Linked DNA regions of Homo sapiens: all the other regions are linked to region 3. The links are contacts of gene promoters, found by promoter capture Hi-C in human tissues and cell types (Jung and others, 2019). All regions are on one chromosome and are shown on one strand. Each heading gives the region's core, a stretch centred on a gene start or on the middle of the fragment in contact. The rest is flanking DNA. Distances are from core to core; before and after follow the strand shown. Region 1 has its middle 19 kb from the start of RAB12. Region 2 overlaps GACAT2 (gastric cancer associated transcript 2). Region 3 holds the start of PTPRM (protein tyrosine phosphatase receptor type M).

Evidence for each region. The method cuts DNA at HindIII sites, captures the fragments that hold promoters and counts their contacts. A contact is called where the count stands out against the background at its distance.
Region 1: a contact is called between a fragment that was not itself captured here and the fragment with the promoter of PTPRM in region 3, in 1 of the 25 tissues and cell types used here (lymphoblastoid cells).
Region 2: a contact is called between a fragment that was not itself captured here and the fragment with the promoter of PTPRM in region 3, in 1 of the 25 tissues and cell types used here (dorsolateral prefrontal cortex).

What each region holds. Positions count from the first base shown.
Region 1 is chr18:8,589,032-8,591,731 of GRCh38, forward strand. No RefSeq gene overlaps it. Among named protein-coding and RNA genes, the nearest start is that of RAB12, 19 kb to the right of the region's middle. The HindIII fragment of the contact is 4,842 bases long and covers 1-2,700 here.
Region 2 is chr18:8,697,134-8,699,833 of GRCh38, forward strand. All of the region lies in intron 1 of GACAT2 (gastric cancer associated transcript 2), which reads right to left. Among named protein-coding and RNA genes, the nearest start is that of MTCL1, 7.1 kb to the right of the region's middle. The HindIII fragment of the contact is 4,689 bases long and covers 1-2,700 here.
Region 3 is chr18:7,565,896-7,568,595 of GRCh38, forward strand. It overlaps PTPRM (protein tyrosine phosphatase receptor type M), which reads left to right and starts at 1,421. Exons shown (of 33, transcript NM_001105244.2): 1 at 1,421-1,996. The coding sequence starts at 1,924. RefSeq lists a silencer at 1,102-1,471. The HindIII fragment of the contact is 7,623 bases long and covers 1-2,700 here.

The DNA.
Region 1 (2,700 bases), core at 76-2,575, 1.0 Mb after region 3:
GGTCCTGGCTGCACAGAGGCGGACTTGTCATCTTGTGACCTCTGTGTACTAGTTTGCTAGGACTGCCATAACAAAGTACCACTGATACGGCAGCTTAAGCAACAGACATTTATTTTCTTATAGTGCTGAAAGCTGGAAGTCTGAGATGAAGGTGTCAACAGGGTTTCTTTCTACTGAGGCCTATCTCCTTGGCTTGCAGGTGGCTACCTTCTCCCCGGGTGCTTACATGGTCTTCCCTCTGTGCATGTCTCTCTCCTAACCTGCCAGTCACACTGGATTAGGGCCCACCTATATGACCTCATTCTACCTTAATCAGCTCTTTAAAGGCCCAACCTCCATATACAGTCACATTCTGAGGTTCTGCAGTTAGGACTTCAACATATGAATCTAAGGGGGCATAGCTCAGCCCATAACACTCTTCTTCTGACTCTCCAGGTCCTGATTGTTACCCCTCCTGGGGCCTGGTTACACTTCCCATCCTTGGGATATAAGATCAGTTCTATCTTTGACTTGTGATAACTTAAGCAGATTTCTACTCCAGCCAGTCAAACAATTCCTCACAAAGATAATTACCCTTTTAGCAAAAGCTGCTCTGTGATTTTTCCAGAATATGAGGATCAGAAATGTTAATACTGTCTTTATATATATGAATGTTAAACAGCAACAGTTTCCAGCTATCTCTTGACGTTTTCATTTTGAACTGATCTCAAATTTCTCAAAGCTTCCTCTTCTTCGGTTGAAATCCATATTCAGGCTCCCATGTCACATGCCAAATCCAAAATGCTATCACTAGCATTCCTGCTCTCTTGGAGGCTATCCTCACAGGTGTTTGGGGACCACCCTCTGGTTCACATTTTCTAAATTGTATGATGTTAGATGTACTTTCCTGGAAAGATACCTGACTTTTCAAGGAAAAATAGAGGATAACATTTGGATAGAAAAAAATGGACACGTCTAGCAGGCAGAAAATAAATAAGGGCTTGGTTAACTCAACACCATCATCAATGAACTGGATACTATGGACATGTACAGACTACCTCATCCAGCATTAGGAGAATATATATTCTCCTTAAGCTCACACAGAACAGTCAGCAAGACAGACCACACCTGAGCCATAAAACACACCTTAATCAATTTCAAAGAATAGATATGATACAATGTCTGTTCTCAGACCACAGTGGAATTAAACTAGAAATCAGTAACAAAGATAGCTGGGAGATCTTAAAATACTTGGAGGTTAAACAGCACACTTCTAAATAATAGATGGGTCAAAGAAGAAATTTCAAGAGAAATTTTAAAATAGTTTGAATCAAATGAAGATGAAAGCACGTCCTATCAAAATCTGTGGGATGCAGCAAAAGCAGCATTTAGAGGGAAATTTATAGCATTGAATACATAGATTAGAAAAGAGGAAAGATCTAAAATCAATTCTCTAAGCTTCCACCTTAGGAACCTAAGAAAAGGAGAGCAAACAAAATCCAAAGTAAATAGAAGAAAATAAATGATAAAAATTAGAGCAGAAATCGATGATATTGAAACAGAAAATCAATGGCGAAAATCAATGAAACCAAAAGCTGGTTCTTTGAAAAGATCAATAAAAATAATAAGCAGGCTAACTAAGAAAATAAGAGACAATACAAATTACTATTATAAGAAATATAAGAGGGGAAATCACTATGAATCCCCTAGATATTAAAAGGATAACCAAGGAATACTATGAACAACTCTGTGTCCACATATTTGATAACCTAAATGAAATAGAGCAATTCCTTGAAAGTCACAATCTGCCAAAACTCACACAAGAGGAATCTGAACAGGACTATATTTATTTTAAAAATTGAATCAATAAGTAATAACCTTCCAAAACAGAAAGCACCAGGCCTAGATGGCTGGTGAATTCTAAACACTGAAGAAAGAAATTATACCAATTCTCTACAATCTTTTTCAGAAGAGAGAACCAAAGAAAATACTTCCTACCTCATTCCCTGAGTCCAGCATTACACTAATATCAAAACCAGATAAAGACATAACAAGAATGGAAAACTACAGGCCAATATGTCTCATGAACACAGATATAAAAATGCTCAACGGCCGGGTGCGGTGGCTCATGCCTGTAATCCGAGCACTTTGGGGGGCCGAGGTGGGCAGAAAACTTGAAGTCAGGAGTGCGAGACCGGCCTAACCAACATGGTGAAACCCCATCTCTACTAAAAATACAACAATTAGCCGGGCGTGGTGGCGCATGCTTGTAATCTCAGCTACTCAGGAGGCTGAGGCAGGAGAATCACTTGAACCCAAGATAGCACCACTGAACTCCAGCCTGGGTAACAGAGTGAGACTTTGTCTCAAAAAAAAAAATGCTCAACAAAATATTAGCAATTCAAGTCCAACGATGTCTAAAAATAATTATATACCACAACAAAGTGGAATTTACTCCATGCATGCATGGCAACATTAAAAAATCAAATAAATGTAATGCATCACATCAACAAGCTAAAGAAGAAAAATCACATGATCATATCAAAAGATGCAGAGAAAGCATTGACAAAATCCAACACCCATTCTTGATAAAAACTGTCAGTAAACCAGATATGACATGGTGCCTATAGTTCATAACAATGTATTATATTCTTGAAAAGTACCAAGAGATTTTAAGTGTTCTCACCACAAAAAAAATAAGTATATGAGGTAATGTTAATC
Region 2 (2,700 bases), core at 130-2,629, 1.1 Mb after region 3:
TTGGCTATAAATACTTTATATTTAAAAATTAAAATTCTTGAATTATACCCTGTATTTTGCCTTTTTTTCTCATGTAACTATTTTAATGAGGTATCATTCACGTACCATAAAATTTAACTTTTTAAAAGATACAATTCAGTGTGTCTTAGTATATTCACAAAGTTATACAACTATCATCATTATGTAATTCCAGAACACTTTTCTCACCCCAAAAAGAAACCCTGTACCCATTAGCAGCAGTCACTCCCATTCCTCCTTCCCTCAGCCCTTGGCAACTACTAATCTACTTTCTGTCTTTATGGAATTGCTAATTCTGGACATTTTATACAAATGTAATCATGTACTATGTGGCCTTTTGTGGCTGGTTTCTTTCATTTAGTATAGTTTTCAAGGTCCATCCATATTGGATCATGTATCAGTACTTCATTGCTTTTTGTGGCTGGATAATATTTCATTTATTAATATACCACGTTTTGCTTATCCATTCATCTACTGATGGGCATGTGTATTGGAATACTACTATGAACATCTATGTACAAGTTTTTCTGTGTATATATCTTTTTTTTTTTTTTTTTGAGACGGAGTCTCGCTCCGTCGCCCAGGGTGGAGTGCAGTGGCGCAATCCCGGCTCACTGCAAGCTCCGCCCGCCAGGTTCACGCCATTCTCCTGCCTCAGCCTCCCAAGTAGCTGGGACCACAGGCGCCCCCCACCACGCCCGGCTAATTTTTCGTACTCTTAGTAGAGACGGGGTTCCACCGTATCAGCCAGGACGGCCTCGATCTTCTGACCCCGCGATCCACCCGCCTCGGCCTCCCAAAGTGCTGGGACCACAGGCCTGAGCCACCGCGCCCGGCCTGTATATATCTTTTTAATTGTCTTGGGTATACACCTAAGAGTAGAATTGCTGTGTCATATGGTAAATCTCTGAGGAATAGCCAACTTTCCAAAGTGTCTGCACCATTTTACATTCCCATCCACAGTGTATGAGGGTTCTAATTTTTCCACATACTTGCCAACATTTGTTATTGTTCATCTTTTTTTATTTTAGCCATCCTAATGGGTGTGACTTCTATTTGCATTTCTCTAATGACCAATGAAGTTGAGTACATTTTCATATGCTCATTGGTGATTTATATATCTTCTTTGAAGAAATGTCTATTCAAATCCTTTGAACATTTTAAAATTGTGTTACTTGTCTTTTTATTGCTGAGTTGCAAGGGTTCTTTATATATTCTGGACACCAGTTTTGTAGCCATTTAATTTCTTGAAATGAGAATCACTACTTGTGGTTGTCACTCCCCTAACCGTATATTTTTAAAAACTGATATACTTCTCTAATGGTAATACAAAAAAGAAATAATAAGAAACCAACTTATAACAAAATAATATCTATTTCAATATATAAAGCTTAGGTACATATATACTACAAAATATATAATGAAGTAGTCAGATGCTCTACATAGAAGCAACTGCTAAAACACGGACAAATACAGGTGGGTTCTATTCATGACTCCAGTCCCTTGAGTGGCACTCCCTCAATGCAATGATCAAAGATAAAAAATGCATTGAAAATCTCCAAATAAAATGCAGTCTTTATTTTATTTTTATTTTCTTTGTGTTGTTTTGAAACAGACTCTCCCTTTCTCACCCAGTGCAGTGGTGCGATCTCGGCTCACTGCAACCTCCACCTCCTGGGTTCAAGTGATTCTCCTGCCTCACCCTCCCGAGTAGCTGGAATTACAGGCATGTGCCACCACATCCGGCTAATTTGTTGTATTTTCAGTAGAGATGGGGTTTCGCTATGTTAGGCAGGCTGGTCTCAAACTCCTGACCTCAAATGATCCACTGCCCTCGGCCTCCCAAAGTGCTGGGATTATAGGCGTGAGCCACTGTGCCCAGCCCAGTCTTGATTTCTACTGTGGTTTCATTCCTAAAAAAAAATTCAGTTGATGGTAAAACAACCCTAAAAACATACTGCTTTAGTATACATATATCAAAACAACACGGTGTACTCTGTCAATGTAATTATGATAATTATGATTTGTCAATTAATAGTTATATTAACTTTTAAAAAATATTTTAAAAACTTAAAAAATACTGCTTTATATGTAAAAGTATTGTGTTTATGTGTAAAACATGTACTTCTAGCCTTAGATAATGATAAACAGATTTTTTTACCCACGTGAATGTTTCAGAGGACTCTTACTTGGAAGTCCTGTAGCAGGAGAGATGACTCTTTTTTTTTTTCTTTTTCTGAGATGGAGTCTCACTCCATCACCCAGGCTGGAGTACAGTGGCGAGATCTCAGCTCACTGCAACCTCTGCCTCCTCGGTTCAAGCGACTCTCCCACCTCAGCCTCCCGAGTAGCTGGAATTACGGGCACATGCCACCATGACAGGCTAATTTTTGTATTTTTAGTAGAGACAGGGTTTCATCATGTTGGCCAGGCTGGTCTCAAACTCCTGGACTCAAGTGATCCACCACCTCAGCCACGCAAAGTGCTAGGATTACAAGTGTGAGTCACCTCATCCCGCCTAGGACGACCCTTCTCTGGGCACACTGCAAGATATCTAGCCCCCCTGACTATTCCCCTTCCCTCACTTAAATGCCAGTAGTGCCCTCCAATCCAGTTGTTATGACAAGAGAAAACACCCCAATATACGTCTAGAATGCTCCCTGTGGGTGCTTCCACCCCCAT
Region 3 (2,700 bases), core at 171-2,670:
CAGGTCTGGTAAGTATCTAGTAAGTGGACTTCCTGAAGTAAGAGGAGTGTTGGTTGCCACACTAAAGGCAAGTCTTCTAGTCCCCAAATTTGCCTTGGGAGGATGACAGCTGTATCTTTCTTGGTTCTGGTGTACAGTGGAGAACAGGGTCAAGATGAGTGTGGAATCCATTTATTTTTTTACGTGTTTATAAGCACTAGAAAGCAGTGAGCACTAAGCAGAGGACCCCTCTTGCGGAAAAAGTGCAGGAGAGCTCCTGGGTGCCTCTGTATCACCGGTTTGCCTTCTAGCCAGAATCATTGCTAGAACCCTGTCACTCAGTTACTTTGGTTCCTAATTTAACCTCTTCCCAAGCCTTCTATTGCGTTCAGTTAGCTAGGCCAGGAGCTTACAGCTGTCTGGTTGGTGCTGGCTCAATGTGCTTATTCCCTGGAAGATAGAAGGATCACTTACAAAAAAATTTACAATTAAAATAAAAAAATTATTTTTTGCTGAAGCATTGTAAGGTTTTTTTAATTCACTCAGACCCAAAATCGTAAAACTAAAATATTTCAAGACATTACTTGATTCACCCCCCACTTCTCTTTCTCCCCTGTTTCTCAGCACTTTGCACCAGATACAGAAACCACGGGTTATGTCCAAACCCTGGTTTTGGTGTGACCACCGCCTTCCGTGTACTGCCTGCGGCTCGCTTCGGGCCCACACGGGACACCGAGGCATGATGAGGACGCAGAACAGCAGAAGCGCGCCCTGCTTCCCGGGCGCCAGTGCTCGGGGCCAGCGGCGTGTACCCGGCGGGCCCGGCCGGGAGCGGGCTGGCGATCGCGGGGCTCGGCGCTCCCGGCTCCCGCGCCATCTCCCGGCGCCCGCCAACTTCGCTCCGCCCGCGGCGTAGAGAAGCTCGCAGCCCTCCGGAGCCTCAGCGATCTCCTGGCTCGCTTTTCCCGCAGCCGCCGAGCAGCGCAGGCCCGGCGACTCCGGGTGCAGCTGGCCCTGTGCGGTGACATCGCCGTCCGGCGCCAGGCTCGAAGCCGCCTGGCCGCGCCCGCGGGGTCGCAGGCCGCTGGTCCCGCCCGGCCGCGCTCACAAACTACTCGCGGCTCGTGACCCGGGACAAACTTCTGGCGGCGGCGCAGCCTCTTCCACAGTCACCCTCCCCAGAGCCAGCTACCAAAATAGAAGACGCGGCCGGGGCGAGGAGGTGGGCGGGGGGAGCCCGGTGGCCGCTCCTCCCCGCGCGGCTGACGCCCGCTTCGGCGGCGGTAGTGGCTGTGGCCGCGGGGCCGCCCCCAGCCGAGCTCCCGGAGGCGCTCGGGCGCGGGCCGGCGGGGCACGGGCGCTCACGCCCTCTAGCGGGCCGCGGCGGCGCCGGGCGGCCGTGACGTGAGCGCTCCCTTCAGCCGGCCTGCGGGGCACCGCCAGTCAGTCGGGGAGCAAGAGCCCCGCGCGCAGCCGGCGCGGGCTCGGTCATCGGCGCGCCGCCGCCCGGGGCTGGGCTTGGGGCTGCCTGTGGAGAGGCGGCGGGCGGAACGCGCGCGGCCACGGCCACGGCCACCGCCACGGCCACGGCCGGCAGCTCGGGTCCCGGGTCCCGGGCAGGGGAAGGGGAGAGGCGGCGAGCTCAGCAACCGGAACCGAGGGAAGATTTTGGCTCCGCGGGCTCGCCCTCCGCTCCCTCTGCCAGCGGCGCCAGACGCCGAGTGGGGCCAGGGACAGGGGAGGAGGACCCAGGACCCTGTGCCCGCGCCCCTGGAGCCGCTGGAGTTCGGACTTCTGCAACTGTTGGCACTTTGGGGGCTTGGCTTAGCGCTCTGCTGTTTACCCGTCTCTCCTCGCTGCCTCGGAACCAAAGCTCCCGGCCCCCTCCGCCCTCGCGCGCCCACCCACCGCCGCCGGGGAGCGGCCCGGCCCGCACTCAGCACCATGAGGGGACTTGGGACTTGCCTGGCGACTTTGGCCGGACTTTTGCTAACTGCGGCGGGCGAGACGTTCTCAGGTAAGCGGGACCGCCTCTGCCGCCCCCGAGGCGCGCGGGCCGGCGCGGGACGCCCGGGACGCCGACAGCTCCCTGGTGGTAGAGCCCTAAGGCTGGCGTCGGGGCCGGGCGGGGGGCGCGGCGGGCCGGACACCGCTTCTGCCTGTGAGCCGGGCGCTGGGCGAGGGGCCGTGGGGCTGGCAGGCACCCAGTCCTCGGGCGGGCGGAGCGGACGGACCCCGAGGGCGAGCTCCCCAGCCGGGACTGCCAGCTCGGCCGCCGTCCTTCCGCGGCCTGGGCTAGTGCTCAAGGTTGGGCGGCTTGCACTCTTGAGTCCCTGGCCGGCTGCAAAAGGAACAGCAGAAAACTTTGCTTGAAGTTCCCAGTTGCAGCCGCCGGGCCGCCTGGCGTAGGCGCTGCGCGGTCCCCGCCGACCCCGAGCAGCGGCCGGGCCCAGGCCGCTGGTGTTCGGCTGCGCCCGCAGCGATCGCCGGGAACTGGCGGCCGCTCCGGCGGCGGCGATCTCCCGGTGCCCTGCCCTCCCTGTCGCCCCCTGCCCGGCGCGGCTGGCGACCCCGGGAGGTCCCCGCGGTCGTGCAGCGTCTGCGGAGAGGCTGGGGGGAGTTCCTCGCCGGTCCCAGCGGTAGGGCTTGGCGGCCGCGGAGGGAAGCGGGCAGGTCCCCAGGCCCTGGCCACGGCCCTGCGCCCCGCTGGGCTCCCCCTCC